Regions from separate parts of the Homo sapiens genome. Here region 1 is linked to region 2. Evidence: promoter capture Hi-C in 16 types of primary human blood cells and fetal thymus (Javierre and others, 2016). All regions are on one chromosome and are shown on one strand. Each heading gives the region's core, a stretch centred on a gene start or on the middle of the fragment in contact. The rest is flanking DNA. Distances are from core to core; before and after follow the strand shown. Region 1 holds the start of LOC101926968 (a long non-coding RNA gene). Region 2 holds the start of LINC03051 (long intergenic non-protein coding RNA 3051).

Region 1 (7,542 bases), core at 4,406-6,905, 640 kb before region 2:
CAGGGCTTGTGTGGAAGAATTAAATGCAAACAGACTGCATGTTTACCCAAGAAGACTGCACCTTGAAGTGGACATTAGGATTCTCAAATGCAGTTTTTGTAATGCACTGGTACCTTTTCTCCTCCTTTTCTTACTTTTGTCAAGACTATGTGTTGGAAATGAAGGTGAAAATCACAGAATAGAATAGAATAGAATAGAATAGAATAGAATAGAATAGAATAGAATAGAATAGAACAGAAGAATAGAATAGAATAGAATCAGACATAGCACACCGAGGACCTATTCCTTTAATAAGTACATTTGAGACCATTACAGTATCTTTCTGTTGGTCCAAAGGCCACTACTATAGCCTCAGTTTCCAAGGACACTTGAGTGAAAAAGATATGGCACCAAAAAGCTAAAGTTGCCTTGTTTTACCTCTAGGGTGTTCACTGTTTGAGAATAACTAGAAAAGGGGATGTAAAATAAGCTTGGATTCTGGTTCTTCCCCCTTTCTTCCTCTTCTACCTTCCTTATCCTCATTTTTTTGCTTTCTGACAGGAAGCACAACTATGTATAGGTTCACGGCCAATAAGCATTGTTTCTTCAAGAAAACAGTGTTGGGAGAGAGGCCCCTGGATCTGTGAAAGGACACAAACCCCTGGCCAGCTACATTTCCAGAACCAACATCTTCCTCTGTTCCCCTTCTCTACCTTGGGGCATCTCCATGTTGGCACTCAACACAGATTTGTATTCTTATGTCTATTACTACTATTCTTTGACCACAGGATTGGGCATGTAATAGCAACTCAATTATTGCCATTGAATGACTGAATAAATAGCCTCTTATGAGCTTATGAGCTTGGTTCTGGAAATGTAGCTGGACAGGGGTTTCTGCCCTTCCTTTATCACAGGTTCATGCGTGTCTCTGCTAACCCCACCTTCTTAGAGAAACAATGCCTTTCAGCCATGAACCTATAGACAATTATGCATCCCTGTCAGAAAACAAAGAATGAGGATAAGGAAAATAGAAAAGGGAAAAAGAGGGAAGAACCAGAATTCAAGTTGATAATGAAAGTGATAAACATTTATTTATTTATTTATTCGAGATGGAGTCTCGCTCTGTCGCCCAGGCTAGAGTGCAGCGGCGCGATCTCGGCTCACTGCCAGCTCTGCCTCCTGGGTTCACACCAATCTCCTGCCTCAGCCTCCCGAGTAGCTGGGACTACAGGCACCCGTCACTATGCCCAGCTAATTTTTTGTATTTTTAGTAGAGACGGGGTTTCACCGTGTTAGCCAGGATGGTCTCAATCTCCTGACCTTGTGATCTGCCCACCTCAGCCTCCGAAAGTGCTGGGATTACAGGTGTGAGCCACCGTGCCCAGCCAACATTCATTTATTTTTAAAAATTTTTAACTGTTTCACATTTTCTGGTACTCAGAAATTTCTGGGCTTTGTTGTGAAGCACAGGCTTTCAACGGACTGTCCAGTTGAATTTTAAAAGTCCAAAGAACTAGTGGTTCATTTCGTTATGATTGAGTCAAATAAACTGGAAGGCTAGAAGCTTACTGGGCCCAAAGAGGACCAGCTGATCCTAATAAAAAGTAAGAATTGAAGTGCTGGGGATATGTCACATTCTTTATATCTTGAAGAAGTTAAGTACAGATAACCCAAACTCACAACGTCATAGTAAACAGTGGAGATGCTAGGCAGAGCTGGCTCTGGACAGTGGGAAGAGTTGAGGTTTGTCAGTCTCTGTCCTCTTGTCAGCATCCTCTGTGCTTCAGGTGACCGTTCCTCCAGGTCTCCAAGGTCATCACAATAATGCATAGGTGGCCCGAGGCTTCTGTTTCCCAGATCTTTCCCATCCTGCCTGTCAACATTTGTGTCTGTCTTTCTAGGCCCTGCTGAGTTGACCAATTTGCTTGTGTTTGATGAATGAAAATGTAGTAAGAATTGAAGGTTTGGTATTTCACTTCCTAGGTTTATTTGCATCTTAACTAGGTATGCATGGACTCTTAGTTTATCTCAAAACAAGTGTATCACTGATACTTGGATTTCCAACCAGGCAGGTAAGTGAGGTAGACAATTTTCCTCAGGTTTGCATTCCAAATGTCAGCCTTCAAATCATGTGACTCTCCCTTCTATAGACAGACATTTCTTTCTCTTCTCCCTCTTCTGCTGCTTCTTCTTTTCCTTCCACCTCCTCTTCAGCTTTCTCCTTGCATTCCTTTTTCTTCGAATTCTTCTTTTTAAAGATCTAAAGTAGAAGTAGACCCCAGAGTCAGAAATTGTATTCATTATAGGATTGTGGTTAAAGGAAAGCTTTCACAGTGTCTGTGACCTTCGAACTATGCTGGAAAATGGAAGGAGTCATGAGTCTCCTCATGGCAGAGGGAAACTGAGTCTGAGTGCCTTGAGATTTAGATTTGGCTCTTTCAAATCCCTACCGCCTTTGCACCTTAGTAAACTGAGCATGTCCCTGGAGTTCTGTGCTTCCTAACATGCAAAGTAATTATGTGGGGATTATGGGTCACTGTGCCTCTTCTCTGTGGAAGACAGAACCAGAATAGGGCTAAATGCAGCAACAGACATAAAGTTAGCACAAGAGAAGAACCTCATCATCAGTGAGATCTGAATGATTGTGAGTTGTAATAATGGCATAACCATTTTGGTAGCTATTTACAAACAGTCACCTTCATTTTTTATCATAAGTTACAATTGTGACAAGAAGGCAGGAGCCTTGGTTGGGCTTGAGAAACTTTAGAGGCTCAAGACATTCAAAGATGTTATTATTCTGCTAAACAATAAATGGCATACTCCAGATCTGTACTGTTCAGTATGGTAGCCACGAGCCACAGTGGTTGCTGAACATCTATCTGAAGTGTGGCTAGCTTAAATTGAAATGTACTGTAAGTGTAAAATATATACTGGGTTTTGAAGGCTTTGTACAAAAAAAAAAAAAGAAAATTTCAAGCACATTGGTATTTTATATGGATCATATTAGTATGTAACGTATAATATCTTTGATATATTGGGTTAAAGTATATTATTAAAATTATATTTAGTTGTTTCTTTTTGATTCTTAAAAGTGTGGTCACTAGAAAAGTTAGAAAGGCATCTATGGCTTGCATTTGTGACTGGTGTTATATTTCTATCAGACAGTAGTGGTGTGGATCATATGAATTTTCAGTATACACATTTCTTTTAAATATTGAAAAGATATTAAGTCACATATTATATTCATTCATTTTATTAGATGAGTTTCACCAGTGGCTCTTAGGTTTGCCTTATCAGTACAAGGGCTGTGGTGGCAACACCTCTTGGGTGTCACTTCTTGGAAACAACACCTTTTGGGTGTGCATTTTGGGCGTATGCTCAGGAGCATCTGATGGGGCTCTCTCATCTAGGGAGAAGCAAGTAAATGTTAAAAGACAAGTTTTTGCCTGTGGATAAAATATCTTCTTTCTTTTTGAGGACAACATCTTATTCTGTATACTATGAAAAAAATTATATCCTTAAGGAAAATGACAGGAGTTCTTTAGATTGCCAGTTATAAATTGGAGAGTCTTGTCTTGAGACAATTCAGATCCTCATTTCTATTCAGGATTTCTTTTCTGCTGTAGATCATTTGATTTGGTTTGGATCTGTGTCCCCACCCAAATCTCATGTTGAAATATAATTCCCAATGCTGAAGGTGGGGCCTGGTGGGAGGTGATTGAATCATGAGGGCGATTTCTAATGGTTTAGCACCATCCCCCATTGCTGTTCTCATAATAGAGTTCTCATGAGATCTTCTTGTTTAAAAGTGTGTAGCACCTCCCAACCCCTCTCTTCCTCCTGCTCCTGGCCATGTGAAGTGCCAGCTCTCCCTTCGCCTTCTGCCATGAGTGTGAGTTTCCTGAGACTTCCCTAGAAGCCCAAGAGATGCTCCATGCTTCCTCTACAGCCCACAGAACTGCGAGCTAATTAAACCTCTTTTCTTTATAAATTACCCATCTCACGTATTTCTTCATAGCAGTACAAGAACAGACTAATACATCATTCAGATTATTTTACTTGCCTAGATAGCCAATTGGGCTACAAAAGCCATGGCATAATCTTTGTATATTCCTTAAGATTGGATATGGCTGTGACAATACAATTCAACAAATAGGGGCTTTAAAAAGATAGAAGTTTACTTCTCCTCTATATAAAGCAGGGCTGTACAGAGTCCTGAGGTAGTATAGTGGCTTTGTTCCACCGTGTCTCAGGGACCTGGGCTCCTTCAGGCTCCATACTCTGTCAATCCAAGTTGTGGCTCTCTCTCTCTTTTCTAATCCAAGATGACATCTTCTACATTGCAGTAGGTGGGGAAAAGAAAGGAACAAAAGAAGAGGGGCAACATTTGTACAATGGCTGTTTCTTAAAGAGTTAGAAAAACTGCCACATGACAATTGCGTATAAATCTTATTGGCCAGACTTTAGAGTGAGTGGTCATGTGCCTAGCTAAAAATTCTGTGACTATACAAGAAAGATGGAATAGATATTGTGGGACAATAGTCTTTGTCCATTGCATTTTTACACATTGTGGGCATTACTGTATGAATTATGTTATTTAGAGCTCTGCAACATAGTTACTTCATATAGCTTTGTGTAGAAAAGCTGGAATGCCCGCTTTATGTTTCTACTCTGGTTTATGCTCTTCACAGGAGAGTATTTGGCCCTGATCCTTAAGCAAAGACAAGTTATTTCTGGAGAATAGCTGTCATATGTAATATGATATAATGATAACAATACTTTAAATTTGGGAAGGGATGAAGCCATTAACCTGTTAACCTGAGTTTGTGCACTCTGGACACCAGAATCTTGACTCTAATAGTCAGGTAGGGTCTGCCTGATCTCTATTAATATTTAGAGGGGGCCTATTACCTTTGGAATTAATGAATATGACAAAAGGATTTTCTAAGTATGCCTGAACTCACCCTTTAGAATAAGGAATAAATGTAGCTGGTAAAATTACTGGTTTAAGCCTAGGTCAGGCAAGCTTAGGCACATCTTTTTGAATGATGAGACTGGCATGCCATATGTCTTCTGTAGGCATGGAGGTCTGAGGGTCTGAGAAAGGGGCACTGAATATGTATGTATCCATCCCTGCTGTCAGCACTTCGCCACATGTTCGCTGGCCAGGGGCTTTGTGCTGCTGCCAGGAAGGAGTTCCGTATTAGAAGCCACCAAGGTTTCAGAGGAACCTTATATTTTTCTTTTATTTGATTTCCTGGAGCAATTGCTTTTCTGTATACATCTGGTGCTATAATCAATTTCCTATAATTTCATAAACATCTCCAAAATTTGAACTTTCTTTTCAATGGGAGTAACTCGGGAGTTTCTTTCTACAGCTTCTTCAAAAGGACTCTAAACTTTTTTACTGAACACTTTGTTAAAGGACCAGCTTTTACTTTCCCACTTGGCAAGATGATTTTCTTTTATAAATTATTGCATTAAAGCTTTGAAGAAAAAACATTTGTTTAATGTTATATAAGGTATATTTATAGCTTCTTTAAAAGGTCCCCAATTTAACAAATTTGTGTGACTTCACAAGCTTTACACATATTTTCTCAGGTACTTCTCATAATACATGTTAAGAAAATGAGTGGGTTTTGAGTCAAACTAATTTTGGTTTGAATGCTACCTATTTTTGTTAGCTTTGCCACAATTACTAGCTGTGTGTCCTTGGTCAAGTCACTTAACTGTTCTGAGTCTAAGCTGTAAAATCACTTTCCTAAGCTTTATCACACGGGGTTATTGTGAAGATGGAAATATCTATGTAAAGCCCTTAATGTAATGTCCTATATTTAAAAGAACTTCAATAATCTCTATTGTTATCATTTTAGACATCAGATCCTAGTCTACATAACATTGCAGATTTTTCCAGTTTGCACACTCTCAGGTTCCAAAGGGATATTATTTATTGTGAGTTAAAAGCCTTTCCTTTCTTTCCTGCTTTTTTCTATTCTTTATTACTTTCTCCTTAATTTCTTTTCTCCCCTTCCCTTTCTTCCTTTTATCCCCCAAATATCCCATTTCCTGTGATCTCATTCCTAGGGTAAAATATTTCTATTAATCTTGCCTCAGTAGTTCAGTATTTTCCTTATCATCATATCCCTTTGGTGATTACAGGGTAGGACTCCATAACCGGATTTCAAATATTAAGAATGTCGAATCATCATTTCATTTCCAGTCAGCTGTAATGGTCAGTTTACATTTTATAACTTCATAGTGTAGGGGTTAACCTGAGTGAAGCCAGGCTAGGGTTTTCTCCTGCTGTTGAGAAGATCAGATCCTGAGCCTCTTGCACTCTCCTGCTTCTTGTTTCTTTGCCTTGGGGGTGGGGAAAGCAACTGGCAAGTCAAGGCAATGGATGGAGCAGGGTAGGTGTAAAGAGCGAGAGCCCAGGCTCTGCTGAGTCCTGTTGCTAGGCAACCGCATGCAGGAAGCAGACACATGCATATGCCTGCTAGCATCCTGTTGTCTTAGCAACAGAACATTTGGTTGAAGGGCTCGGGGAGGAGGGGGACTGGGTTCAAAATACTCAAAGTTCCCAGCATCTTAGGATATCCCTTCGCCTGAACCCCCATGTCTTTGTTGTCTTAATTTTCCCACATTCACTGAAGCAGAAGGTTCCATCCTTTTTAAAAATTTAGTTAATCACCCAAAATTTGTATGAGGGCTTTCCTCAGAGCTCTACATTACCCAAGTCACATCGCGGTTCATTAGAGCCCATCCACCTCCAAGTCCTCTGGTGCTCTGCGTGGCAGGGCCTATTCTATGGAATTTTAAAATGATCCCCTGCTCTAAGCACAGCCCTGTGGGACAGAAGTTAAACGTTCACTTGTATGGAAATTTAAATTCTGGGGTTTTAGTATGTGAAATGATTCTAAGTCATTATCATCAGCTCCAAGGCTGTCACTTCTGAGCTTTTCAGTCAGTAACAAAGACGAAGGAAAATGAAAGAGAGCAGGATGGCCTCCTTTTTCTTACTGGTCTATACGTGATGTTCAGGAATTATGGCATTCTGTTCTATCTGTTTGCCTATCAGTCTTTCCCACTTGACCATTCTCCTCTAAGTGTTGGGGCTATGTCTTTTTCATCTCTGGATTCTTCTTTTCTGCCACAGTTCCTGGCACATAGTAGGTGAATTTATTTAATAGATGACCTGGGAACCCATACAATGTAAAAATACTTCAAAACTATGCAGTGTGGTGCATAAATATTAGTTACTATTTCTGCATGCCTGGCTCTAATATTGTGCCCTTTGATCACTAGATTAGACTTTCTTATTCCTGAGACCACCTCCTGCCTTTGGACCCCAAGGTTAATTACTAAATCCCTGTCTTGTTTTCCAAAATCTTATGCCCTGTTTTGAATACCTGTAGTGCCTAATTTCTTATGGTTGAAACCTTAGTTTTTTGTTTTTTTTTTCTGTATTCCCCAGAGACCTTATAAACCAGCCTTACAGCTGAGGTGCTGTCTCTAGCCTTCAGATTTTCCCAATACTTCTTATTAGCTACTCTGCATTTTGCT
Region 2 (6,921 bases), core at 1,709-4,208:
TTAGGCATCAAGAACAATTTTGAAAGAATTTTAAAGAATTGTTGGAAGTCATTCTAAGTATAATGTAGGGAGATCACAAAGTCTGATGCAACACATTTTGTGGCTCTGGCAAATCCAAATATAAACTACAAGATTTAGCAAGTCATGCGATTTCCTTGAAACTCAGTTTTCTTATCTTATAATGAGGTTTGGACTAGACAAGTTGTACTCCATGGGCGTGGCTGGGGTGGGGGGAAATTAGTTTCCCAGGCAACATATAGGATTTCTGGAGATATTTTTGTTTGTCATACTTTGAGGAGAGGGGTCTGCTAGTGGCATGTAGTGGGTAGAGGTCAAGGACACTGCTCAACATCTTGCAATAAAAAGGACAGCCCCATACAACAAAGAATTATCTGGGCCAAAATGTCAAGGGTGCTGAGGCTGAGAAACTGGACTACATGAGCAAACAATTTCTCACAACTCTTAACACTTTGTGGTTCTTATAGAATGATTTTTCAATCATTAGAGGGCAAAAGAATCACCTAGATATACTAGTAAAATGCAGATTCCTGGACTCCAACATCCAAATATATTAATAGACTAGGTTGTGTGTATGACTAAGTAATCTGGAATTTTAACATGTACACTGTGATTCTATTGCATCTGGGTTCTTAAATTGATTGTATTTTGAGAAACCTTACTAAGACATGCATTAACATTGAAGAAATCAAGGTTGATCCTTGAAAAACAATACCACTAGACATTATTTATTAAGTACTTCATGAGTTATACTCACAAAAGTCCTTTGAGACTTTTGCAAGGTCTCTCCATTTGTTAAAGGCATGGTAGGACTTGAATCCATCTAGTTCTAGATTCAAAGTCTATGCTCTGGCCACTTGCAAATTGCCTCCTGAGAATGGAACAGACTTGGCAAGACAAACAAGCAGCAGATAAAGGAAGTGCATGGGGAAAAAAGAAGACTGAGCAATCTAGAAGAAAGTGTCTCCATTGGGGATTGAAAAAAAAATAAATTGTTAAAGGTAAGATAAGAAATTTCAGAAGACCTTACATTTTAAAAATGAAGAATCTGAATTCTGTCTGGTAGGTTAGTGTTTTTCAGCCCTGGTTGCAGATTAGGATGGCCTGAGATCTTTAAAATACTCCGGATGCTAGGGCTGCAACCCAAAAATTGTGATCTAATTGGTTTGGGGTGGGATGATGCGTCAGCAAAAGTCCTCAGGTGATTCTAGTATGGTTCTAGAAGACCATAAGGAGCAGCTATAACTCATAAGCAGGTGAGAGTCTTGAAGAAACTGTTAACAAGATTAACCTGGTGGTAACGTATAAACTAGATTAGAGCAGTGAATGGAGGAAAGGGATCAGGTAGAAGGCTATTGTAGAAATCTAGGGGTGTGGCAATAAAGACCCATACTAGAGAGATGGATCAGGAATGCTGCTAGAGTCAGGAGACCTCCTTCAGGTCTGCTAATGTTGCTTTCACTGGCCTATCGTATGTCATAAGAAAAGTCACTTAACTTGTCTTTGTCTGCATTTCCCACTAATGCTCGAAGAGCTAACATAGCCCTTGAACATATCACAGCATTAGAGATAATTAAAAGTATTTCAGAAAGTATAATGCACAACACGTGTTTATTATGAAAAAGGTGGCAGTAAAACTGAAAAAAAAACATAGAGACATCTTAGACACATTTACACATTGTCGTGGTGAGACTGATGATCAACTGAAATTGGAGAAGAGAGAATTAAATATACTTCTAAAAGTTCTTGAAGCCTGTGAAACAGGGAAGTTGGAAAAGGGGAATAATTCCTGAAGAAAATCACGTGGGTATAGATAAGAAGTTCTCAACTGGGTCAGTTTTTCCCTCCAGGGGGCATTTGGCAATGCCTGGAGATGTTTTTGGTTGTCATAACTAGGAGGATGAGGGTTGTGCTACTGTCAGCTGGTGGACAGAAGCTAGGGATGTTGCTATAAATCCTATAGTGCACAAGACAGCCCCACACAGTAAAGAATTATCTGGTACAGTATGTCAGTAGTGCCAAGGTGGAGAAACCTAGCATAGATATTACAAACAGTTGGAAGGGACCAATATTCATTATCATGTAAATACATGGATGAATAAAATGAAATTCAGAGATTGAATGACTTAGTTAAGGTCCCCAACGAGTGGAGGCCACAGTAACAGAACTGAAATCCAGCTTTCCTAACTACTAGTCAGTGCTCTTCAGAGCGGCCCCATCTGCCTACTCACCCAACTCAGCCCTGGCCCTGAGTCATCCAGTTTGAGATGCTTGGTACCCAGCTGGGAAGTCTAAGCTGAGGGCTAAGCACGAGGTTAGTGGTGGAGGTTTCCATCCTCGTGTAGCTGTAATAGACCTTTTATTTCCAAGTAACTTAAAGAAATTATAACAGAAGATATAAACCAAGAAGTGCAGAGGAACCCAGAGGGCTCTTGGAGGGAAGGTCAGAAGTGCCAGAATTGTTTTGACCCAGTGACTTTGAAATCAAATAAAAAGGAATGGCACACGCTGTGAAGCGCAGCATCAAAATCAAGTAGGATGAGGCTTCAAAAGGCCATTGGACTTTTTGGTGGAGGTCATGGTGACATTTGGAGAAAAATTTCCATAGAGTTGTTAGGAAAGCACTGGAGATTTCTGAGAGGGAGAGGAGCAATGAGGTGATGAAGATGTGCGGCTAGCATGTTCCAAGAGCTTCCTCGTGAAAAGGAGAAATTCAGGACTTATGGGACAGCAAGGTCAAGTCAAGGATTTAAGAAGGCAAGAGCTTCACCTGTGTTTGCTGAGAGCAGAGGGGACTTTGGCGGCGTTGGATAGACTTGGCACAGACACACAGCGAAGAAGAGCCGCGGCGATGCCGTTCTGTGAGCACTAGATGGCAGTAGCGGGGCCCTTTCGGCTCGGTTCGCGGTCCTATAAGGCGCTGCTTGTTTAAGTACATCGCATTTAGTTGAAGCTGCAGGGGAGTGAGGGAGAGGAGGATAGGAAGCAGGAAAGCGGGAGAGCTCGAGGGACAAGGGGGCTCGGTGTGTTTACACCAGGCACGGGCTACGAGCGTCCATCCCGGCCCCTGGCTTGCGCTCCCGAAGAGGAGAGCAAGGCTGTTCTGGGATCCGGCCGTCGTGCGGCAAGAGGCTTGTCTGTCCGGGTTGCCGGAACCAGGAGAACCCAGAGGGAAACCGAGGGAAAGGAGCGGCGCGTTTTACTAGAGAGAGCGCGAGCGGAAGAGGCGAGAGCAGGAGCGCGCGAGGGAGCATCGAGCGCAGCGGAGACATGAGGACCTACTGGCTGCACAGCGTCTGGGTGCTGGGCTTTTTCCTGTCCCTCTTCTCATTGCAAGGTAGGGGGAGGATTCCCTGACCCCTTGCGCCCCCTCCTCCCTGCCGCCGGGCTCCGGGGTGGTCGGTGGAGTAAGAAGCGCTCCGGTTCTGGATGGAACAGGGTTTATTTACAAGTCCTGCGGTGCGCTCCCTGCCCTGCCAGCTCTGCGCCCAGGCTGGGTCCTGAGGCGTGCGGGATTGTGCGGACAGACTTGCTGCAACATCGGTGTTGATGGGGAAAGAAGCCAGGGCTTGTGTGTGTGTGTGTGTGTGTGTGTGTGTGTGTGTGTGTGTGCGCGCGCGCGTGTGAACGGGGGGCAGGATAGAGCGGCGTGTTTTGTGTGTGTGTGTGTGTGTGTGTGTGTGTGTGTGTGTGTGTCTTGGTGGGGTGGGGGCTTTTGCGCGAGGTGGTGGCGACGGAGCTGGGGTTGCTCCTCTGTAAACTCCAAGAGCCGCGGTGGTGTTCGCTATCCCCGTGTCCCCGGTGCTGATATCACTGCATTCCTCCTCTTTCAGGAGGGAATTGGCATTAAGTTTAGGAGGCTAGGTATCCGCTTGGCACCTGGTACTTGTATCTCTCTGCAAAATAGCCCCACCAGATTCTTCTGCCCCGAGATGGAGGAGGGATGCGGGAGGGAAGGGAACGGTGAGTGGGGTGGGGGGAGGGGGACACGGGGAGGGGGGGAGGAGGAGAAGAGGGAGGGAGGAAGAGAGTGGGGTGGGGGAGAGAGAGAGAGAGAGAGAGAGAATGAATACGAGAATTCACGGGTAATCGCTGCGCTGGCTCATAATGGTCAATGTATTTCATGCTTGCAGGACAAAATTGCTAGCGCTGGGTGTTTACTTTGAAGGGATTGTAGGTTTCTATGTTTTGGGGAGGTTGTAAAATAAATTCATGAAGGTTAAAAATGAAAATACATACATGGTGTTTGCATTTCACTTACAAGCTGGCATCCAGAGCCCTCACTGATGTTAAACATACCTATAATACACGAAGTAATTCCAACATAAAAATATATTATCTTTTTAATCTTCCTGTCTCACTCTTCCTGCTCGTGAGAGGAACCTTGCACAATTAGCCATAGAGAGTCTGTGCTATATTGCTCTACCACTGACGGTTCTACTACATCTTCATGTTTGGGCATTCTGCCATCATTAGGACATTTACCCACGCACATCTCTCATGCTACAGAACACACTCCATTTACACACAGTGTACACATGCACACACAAAGACACATACGCACACACACTGCCTCTCAAGAACACTTGGCATGAAATGACCAGACTGGCAATCCTACTCCTGATTTTTTTCTGACAGCTGGTTGCTAATGTTACATTGGTGGGTTTCATTTTTCATTGCTGGGGGATATTTTGTGTAGCTATAAAGCCCTCTTGCTAAATGAAAAGAGAATAGACTCCCTGGCTGTTTACTGTTGAAGCATTGCAAGGGAATGAATACTATGTCGAAGTTATAGTTTAAAATATGCTTAGGGGAACAGCTGGAACTCACCCATAATACAATTACAAGTTACAGGTTCTAAAAACTTTCTCATCTCAGAACTCACTGACCCATTCCTCTCCTATCTAATTTGTGAGCTCTTGCAATACATGATTCTTCTACTAAGCATGTCTAAATGAAAAATAGAGTCCCAATCTTGCTTTGGCTTTTTACATTTTATTTCTTTACATTTTTTCCTTCAAAGCTCACAGGACTTTCTCTGTGATTTCAGATATTGCTGCAATTCAGCTTTTTCATATTGAGACATTAGCATCGTGACTGTACTATGCCAGCAGCAGAGGTTAATCCCTTTCCTTCCTATTCCATTTAACTCTAGGAATTTAGCTCTTCTGATAAAATGCTAAGAATGATGTCATGAATACATGCTCCTCTTAAGTTTGAGTAAAACTATGGGATATTCATTACTCAGCCATGGGGTCTTATGAGTGAAAGGTACTTCTAAAGGATGAGGAAGGTGTAATGGAACACGAAACCAGATAATTATATTTCAGGAGATCTTCTATTAAAAAAAAAAGCCCCCCAGTCTTTTTCAGTGATAACATAGTAAACTATAGTAACAATTCTCTGAATTTTCTGGTCTCATTTGGGCAAAGCAAATAGCTTTTCCTCCCCGGGAATATTGTTCTTTCTAAAGAGGAGTTTTCAAGATTTTGCTAAATAGAGTTTAGCACATTGTGGGAAGTGGCCTCAGTTCTCAAGCTTTGGGATCCCCCAGTGTGTGGCACACACTAGGCAGCAGTAACGTTGAGTAATGGGATAGGAGAAGAAGGCAGTGCAGCTGGATGAGGCTAAGAAACATGGAGATCACTCGCAAACAACTGCCATACACATTATCTCCTGCCATCATCATGGCAGGGCTTGAACTGTTTCCTGACAACATGCTCTCCTCTCTCTTACACATATGTACATGTGGACACACACGTACACACTCCTCAGTGTCAAAGTATGTGGCCCTTTTGAATTGGCCCCATCCCTTGTTTACTATCTCCATTCTTCAGCACAGTTGCTTCTGCTGTTTCTTACCATTATGTTCATGGATTCACAGATTAATGCTGTTCTTGGTGTTCATTGTTAATTAGAATACATTTGTTCAAGAATGTTTAATGTAAGTACTTGAGGCTATGTGGTTCTGAGGTGGAGGGATATTTACAGAATGATTTGGGCTTGCCCCATGAGAAAAAGACTATTTAGTCTAAGTCATTATTTTGTGACCATGGGCAAGTCGGGCATATATTCTTGAGGTTCAGTAATAATTATGTTCTGTTTTTCATGAATGATATAATAATCATTATCATTATTTTGAAATAGATCATAAAAGATAGCTTAGTCAAGATGTGTTCACATGTGAATAAAAACTATAGTTTTTTCTCTGTTGTTCTTTTTCCAAATATCCTAGAGTACTTTGATATAGTTGAGTATATTCATCTATGCAATGTCCTTGTGATGTTGGTAGGGAGAACTTCTAACCTTTTGTGCAATGACGAGAAGGTTATATAATGGCCCAGCCAGGTTTCATCCTTGATATCCTGGCAACTGTAGTTTATATTAATGACATCTCCATTGATAAAGGGTCTCTGAGGTTTCCAGAAGAAAGTTTTTTAGATATTCATGAGTGTACTAATATCATCAATTTACCTGTAACTTTGATTAAGCAAAGAAAGCAAACCCATACACACACACAAACAAACAAAAAAAACCACTTTTCTCAGGACTTTCCATTTGTTCCCAGCTTAGTTTGAGGTCCTGCTTCATTGGCTTAGATCTGGCCAGGTCTGTTTGTCATCTGGCATCTGTCTCTTCTTTCTCATGCTCCAGATCCAGAGCCAGAGAGCAGCCACTGCTTTGCTCTGAGGTTGGCTCTATTTTCTCCCTTTGGCATATGGGATGGCAGTAGCCCTGTGCCCTTTTGGTACTGCAGAAGAGATGGATTCCACTTGGCCCATCCCACCCCCATCTCTGGTTCACCTGGGCATGAAGGTTTCCTTGGCTTCTGCCTGCAGCCATATTTGGGCTGCTTCCAGGAGAAGAGAAGAATGTAGTGACACTGCAGCAGAGGCAGCTTAG

What was found. The method cuts DNA at HindIII sites, captures the fragments that hold promoters and counts their contacts. A CHiCAGO score of 5 or more calls a contact.
Region 1: a fragment that was not itself captured here is called in contact with the fragment with the promoter of LINC03051 in region 2 in 1 of 17 cell types (erythroblasts); the score reaches 6.3 in erythroblasts.

Annotation. Positions count from the first base shown.
Region 1 is chr3:118,640,634-118,648,175 of GRCh38, reverse strand. All of the region lies in intron 2 of LOC105374060 (a long non-coding RNA gene), which reads left to right. It overlaps LOC101926968 (a long non-coding RNA gene), which reads right to left and starts at 6,408. Exons shown (of 2, transcript NR_135573.1): 1 at 6,252-6,408; 2 at 4,019-4,314. The HindIII fragment of the contact is 185 bases long and covers 5,563-5,747 here.
Region 2 is chr3:117,993,616-118,000,536 of GRCh38, reverse strand. It overlaps LINC03051 (long intergenic non-protein coding RNA 3051), which reads left to right and starts at 2,958. Exons shown (of 3, transcript NR_182298.1): 1 at 2,958-3,355. RefSeq lists an enhancer at 2,741-3,287. The HindIII fragment of the contact is 6,554 bases long and covers 1-5,558 here.